2 separate regions of the Homo sapiens genome follow, and region 2 is linked to region 1. The links are contacts of gene promoters, found by promoter capture Hi-C in human tissues and cell types (Jung and others, 2019). All regions are on one chromosome and are shown on one strand. Each heading gives the region's core, a stretch centred on a gene start or on the middle of the fragment in contact. The rest is flanking DNA. Distances are from core to core; before and after follow the strand shown. Region 1 holds the start of BSPRY (B-box and SPRY domain containing). Region 2 overlaps C9orf43 (chromosome 9 open reading frame 43).

Region 1 (2,737 bases), core at 238-2,737:
AGCCCCTGTGAGCTATGGGATGTAATGTTTCTCTTTCGGTTTAGCTCCCGCCTGTGTTCAGTTCTGATGCACTCAGAGTACTCTCTGACACCTGAAGGCCTGGGCCCTTCCCCTTTTGAGAGAGTGCCCAGCTTTCTGCCAAGACTCCTAAGAAAGAATTTGGGGTTGGTGGCCGGGCGCGGTGGCTCACACCTGTAATCCCAGCACTTTGGGAGGCTGAAGGGGGGAGATGGCTTGAGCCCAGGAGTTTGAGATCAGCCTGGGCAACATGGCAAAACCCTGTCTCTACGAAAAATACAAAACTTAGCTGGGCACGGTGGCATGTGCCTGTAGTCCCAGCTACTCAGGAGGCTGAGGTGGGAGGATCACTTGAGCTGGGGAGGTCGAGGCTGCAGTGAGCTATGATTACACCACTGCACTCCAGCCAGGGTGACACAGTGAGACCCTATCTCAAAAAAATAAAAAAAAATAAAAAAAAAAAAGAAGAAGAAGAATTTAGAGCTGGAGAGCAGCGTTCTCCTTGTATGCCCAGACAGACTAGACTGGATCCCCAGCAGAGGGCTCAATCTGGGCTCAGACTAATATATAAGATCCTGAGGGTGGGAAAAGCCCTAAACAGCTCAGGAACATGTTAGCAGTTTTTCTTTCTGGGGTGGGAGTGGGTGGATTTTTCTTCCACATGCTTATTTGCATATTTTGTTTTCTTCGAAATAAAAAGGCATTACTTTTTTTCAATGCTAGTTTAAAAAGAAAACTCAAATATTCAAATTCAAAAAGTTTGGATGTAAATACTTTGGGAAAATCAGCCTAATACAGATATTTCTCACTGGGCCTCAATGTTCAATTTAAAAAATTATTAATTATAGTAACCTTAAGTCACACTGCCTAGGTTCCAATCTCATAGCTACCAATTAGTAACTGTGACCCTTGGCAAGCCACTTAACTTCCATAAAAATGGGATCCTAATAGTACTTTCCTCGCACTGTTAGTAGACACTTAGCGATTGCAGCTGCTATGTTCCAGATATTGTTTTACGTATTTAGCGTATTTACTCCTCAGACGTCTGGGAGGCAGGTACTCTCACCCCATTTTACAGCTGGAGTTCCCACCCAGTGAGCAGCCAAACGGGATTTGAACCAGGCAGTTTCTCAGCAGAGCCTTGCTTGAAGCTAGGCATCTAAAGCTGCCTCTCAAAAAGGGCAGTGGTCGGGATTACATAACAGAACGCTTGCAAAGCTCTCAGCGAAAGCCTGGCACTTAATAAGTGCTCAATAAAGTTTCCTACGGTCACAGTAATATTTGGAGTTTTATGTTTGTTGTAGAACAAATACGCATACAATCGCGATTTCATTCAACAAGGAATTTAAAGAGACCTGCTGCCCCGGGCGGGATGGGAGCGCGGGTTGGGTGGGAGGAGGCGCAGCTGCGGGGCGCGCTGGCGCACCGGGAGGGCCGGGGGCGGGGTCAGCCAGGCCCCGCCCGCCGCCACCTGCGACAGGTGGAGCGCACGGGGCGGGCGCACGGCCATGTCCGCCGAGGGCGCGGAGCCGGGGCCGGGGTCCGGGTCCGGGCCCGGGCCGGGGCCACTCTGCCCCGAACACGGCCAGGCTCTGAGCTGGTTCTGCGGCTCCGAGCGACGGCCCGTGTGCGCCGCCTGCGCGGGGTTGGGCGGTCGCTGCCGGGGGCACCGCATCCGCCGGGCGGAGGAGCGCGCCGAGGAGCTGCGGGTGAGCGGGTGTGGGCGCCGGAAGGCGAGGGCTCCGGAGACCCCGGGCGCGCCTGGCGGGACCCGGCAGGGACTGGGGAGCCTGGGGCTGGGCGGACTCGACACCCGGCCCCGGAGCCTAGGCTCCTCGGTGGCTTTGGCTGTAGGACTAGGCGGTTAAGGGTGTGGCCTCTGAAGTCAGGCTGGCCTGAGTTCGAATCTACTCCCTGTGAGTCACGTAACTCTGAGCCTCAGTGTCTTCATCTGTAGTTTGGGGACAACAACAATAATAATAGCGCGTATTTATTAGAGTTGTGAGAAATAAATAAGATAGTGGGTAAAATGCTTAGCGATAAGGGGATCCAGGCTCCCCAGGCCCCTTCCATTGCTCTGTTGAGGAAGCTGGGGCTGGCATGAAAGGCTCAGCTGCTCCAGTTCTCAGCGCAGGGTGTGCCCCAGCTCCCGCCCCTGTGGAAACTGACACTGATAAAATCCAGCGCGACCGTATCCCTTAACCCCTGGACTCAAAGCCCCCCTCCTCCTTTCGCCTCTTCCCCCTGCTCCTAACCCCTTCTGGCTTCTGGTGCGGTGATCTCTTTTTCGCTTTCAGGATTGGCCTTGACTGTACTTCAGGCTGGTTTAAGGGCTTCAGCTGGATAAACGGTGGGGGTAGGGAGAATATCAGGGGATTCCCCTTCACCCAGGCTTTCTCGCCACCTCCACTTCCAGCTCGGCTCCAGGGTGGCCACCTCCTTGTCATCACCATTCTCCTGAGCTGCTGAGATTGGGAGAGTCGAAGTCACCTTGGGCTTCTCTGTGGCCCCTGGGGATTTCCTTGCAATTTGATTAAACAGCTTGTTTCTCCCAACCCGACTCTGCAGTTCACCCCTGCTGTGAAGCCTGAGGGCTCTGGCTGGGGACTTCGCCTACCCAGAGTGACCTGTAATAAACACATCTTATATAGGGTGCTGGGCTCGGGAGGGGTTCAGTTTTTCAGCAACACCCAAAAGCTCCTGGTTCGTCCTACCTGTT
Region 2 (2,737 bases), core at 1-2,500, 80 kb after region 1:
ACTGCAGGGAATGGGAAGGAGTGGTTCTAGGTTCATTTGGACAGCATGGAGGGCAAAGAACGTGTGGTAAAAGCTTCTCTTCAGTCCCAAGAGGTGGGTCTCTGGCTCATCTTAGATGTTAATTTCTCCAAGAGAAGCATCTTTTAGAAAAATCCTTTTAGTTTCCTAAAGTCTTGATTCAAATTTCCTTATACCCCAATGAATTTCAGGATTCCACGGAGAGACCAAAGATGAACTACTATGACCATGCGGATTTCCACCACAGTGTAAAAAGTAAGTTACTAGAGTAGAGGAACCTTAGTAAGTGACTGAGGATAGGGAGAGTTGAACCTGTGTTGACCAGGATAGTTTACCTCCCTGAAGGCACAGTTCCTCTATCTCAGAGAAGTCCTAAAAACACCCCATTTTTCCTTTTCTGTCCTCCATTTGTTGTAGTTGAGAGGAGTTTACAGGTGCAATTAATGACTGCATCTTCTTTTAGGTCCTGAATTGTATGAAACAGAACCCACTAACAAGGACATTAGTGCTCCAGTGGACGCTGTGCCAGAAGCCCAGGCTGCCAGGCAAAAGAAGATCTCCTTTAACTTTTCAGAAATTATGGCTAGCACAGGCTGGAACTCTGAGCTCAAACTACTTAGGATTCTTCAGGACACTGATGATGAGGATGAGGAGGACCAGTCCTCTGGGGCAGAGTGAGAAGCCTCTGGAGGAATAGACTGAAGGCATCCCCTGGGGCAGCCGTGTTCCAAAGCGGGATGGCTGGTATCCTGAGGGCAGCAACGTTTCACATAAGGGCAAGAGGAGAGGGGCTTCTGCTCTCTGGAGCCTTTACCAGGGCCTGAGCTCTGAGCTTAGGGATTCCATTTTCTTTGTTCACCTCTACTTGCCTCTAAAATAAATGTAGGAGAAAAATCCCCAGCCTTTTTAAATTTAGATTATTTCCTTTCCATTAGGGTCAGAATAATTTTGGTGATTAAACACAACTGCTTTTCAATCAAAAGACTTATTTTCTGTTTCTAGGAGGAAGGGAAAGATGTTTCTTGGTATCTGTTTTCTGGGTCACTCTTATCTCTGAAGTTCTGAAAGGTTTCCAGTTGTAGGAGGCTGAATTTGGCTCATGGGAGCTGCCATGATGCTCCCTAGATTTTCCTCTCATTCCCTAGAAATGGTTTCTTTTGGAGATGGGATCTACATTGTTATCAAATAATGTTCATTGTGTCGCTGGTCTTAAGCTCCTAGGCTCAAGCAGTCCTCCCTCCTCAGCCTCCCAAAGTGCTGGGATTACAGGCATGAACCACTGTGCCCAGCCAAAAGCTCTAGTTTCTTTCTTTTTTTTTTTGAGATGGAGTTTTGTTCTTGTTGCCCAGGCTGGAGTGCAATGGCATGATCTCGGCTCACCGCAACCTCCGCCTCCTGGGTTCAAGCGATTCTCCTGCCTCAGCCTCCCGAGTAGCTGGGATTACAGGCATACGCCACCATGCCTGGCTAATTTTGTATTTTTAGTAGAGATGGGGGTTTCTCCATGTTGGTCAGGCTGGTCTCGAACTCCTGACCTCAGGTGAGCCACCCACTTCAGCCTCCCAAAGTGCCGTGATTGCAGGTGTGAGCCACCGCACCCGGCAAAAAGCTCTAGTTTCTAAGGAACTGAGTCTGCACAGGAAAGTTTCAGTGATGCTCATAAAGGCTCAGAATTTCAGAGTCTGAGAGAACTTCTAACTTGGTTTTGGAGGTTTTTTTTTTTTCATGTTTTAGTCCTTAAAAAGATATAATGTAAAAATTTCAAAATTACGTAAAAGGAAAGAGAATAATATAATGAAACTTTGATGTATTCAGTATCTTAGATCTGGGCAAGGAAGGCCCTTGGCCCCGTGCTTTAGAAAGTCCTCTGGTGTTCTGGCTGTGCTGCCCCTCACGGCAGAGAAATCTGCAGAGCCAAGTGGACGTACACCTAGCTGGAGTCTGTGACTCCCCTTTTAGACTTTGTTCCTGGTATTTGGAACCCTGGAATTCCCTGCCCAGTGGCCTCTTGCCTACTTCCATGGCTTCTGCAGGCCTCTTTTGTGGGTCCATCTCCCAAGAGTGGACTATCCCACCAGTGTGTGTGCTGCTGGGTTCAAGGGGGTAAGAGGAGGGTATTTGGAGAGGGATGTGCCCAGAGCTTGGACAGATAGACTGGGGTATCAGCATTTGTTGCCTTTCCCAGTAAGGATGGGATCATGGGGATGAGAAGTGAGGGCTGGTTCTTCTAGTGCTGCATGTTAGTGTGGAACCTCAAGGAATCTGTGGATTTTGAATGAACCTGGCTTTCTAGATCATGAAGGTATACTGGTCAAGGTAGCAAGTTAGAACATGTTTTATTTAACAATTTGTTAGCTTAATTTATAGTTTTTAAATGTTCAGACATGGTTAGTAGACCTGTTTTTGTACACTTATCCTGAGTCCTGCAAAACATTAGGACTGTCCAGAGCCATCATTTGGGACAAATTTTAAGGAGGAAGAATTTAACCCCACAATGTAGAGATCATTAATTTGCAGTCCCATTTTAAAGGTAAGGATAGCAAGGCTCAGAGAGGGGATTTGTCTTGACTGAGCTCATGAGCTGGGAAGTGGGGCTAAGCTGGAATCTGGGTCTCCTAGTGCTAGGTCAGAGCTCTTTTCATTATTCCAGTCTGCTGTTCTCTCACCTCATTCTCCAGAAACAATGGTAGGTTATTCATCATCATATTTAACCAGAGTC

What was found. The method cuts DNA at HindIII sites, captures the fragments that hold promoters and counts their contacts. A contact is called where the count stands out against the background at its distance.
Region 2: a fragment that was not itself captured here is called in contact with the fragment with the promoter of BSPRY in region 1 in 2 of the 25 tissues and cell types used here (mesenchymal stem cells and spleen).

Annotation. Positions count from the first base shown.
Region 1 is chr9:113,348,054-113,350,790 of GRCh38, forward strand. BSPRY (B-box and SPRY domain containing) reads left to right here and starts at 1,488. Exons shown (of 6, transcript NM_017688.3): 1 at 1,488-1,727. The coding sequence starts at 1,527. RefSeq lists silencers at 1,456-1,525, 1,556-1,835. The HindIII fragment of the contact is 5,403 bases long and covers 1-2,737 here.
Region 2 is chr9:113,428,691-113,431,427 of GRCh38, forward strand. C9orf43 (chromosome 9 open reading frame 43) reads left to right here. Exons shown (of 14, transcript NM_001278629.2): 13 at 210-273; 14 at 482-1,000. The coding sequence ends at 696. Among named protein-coding and RNA genes, the nearest start is that of C9orf43, 19 kb to the left of the region's middle. The HindIII fragment of the contact is 8,820 bases long and covers 1-2,737 here.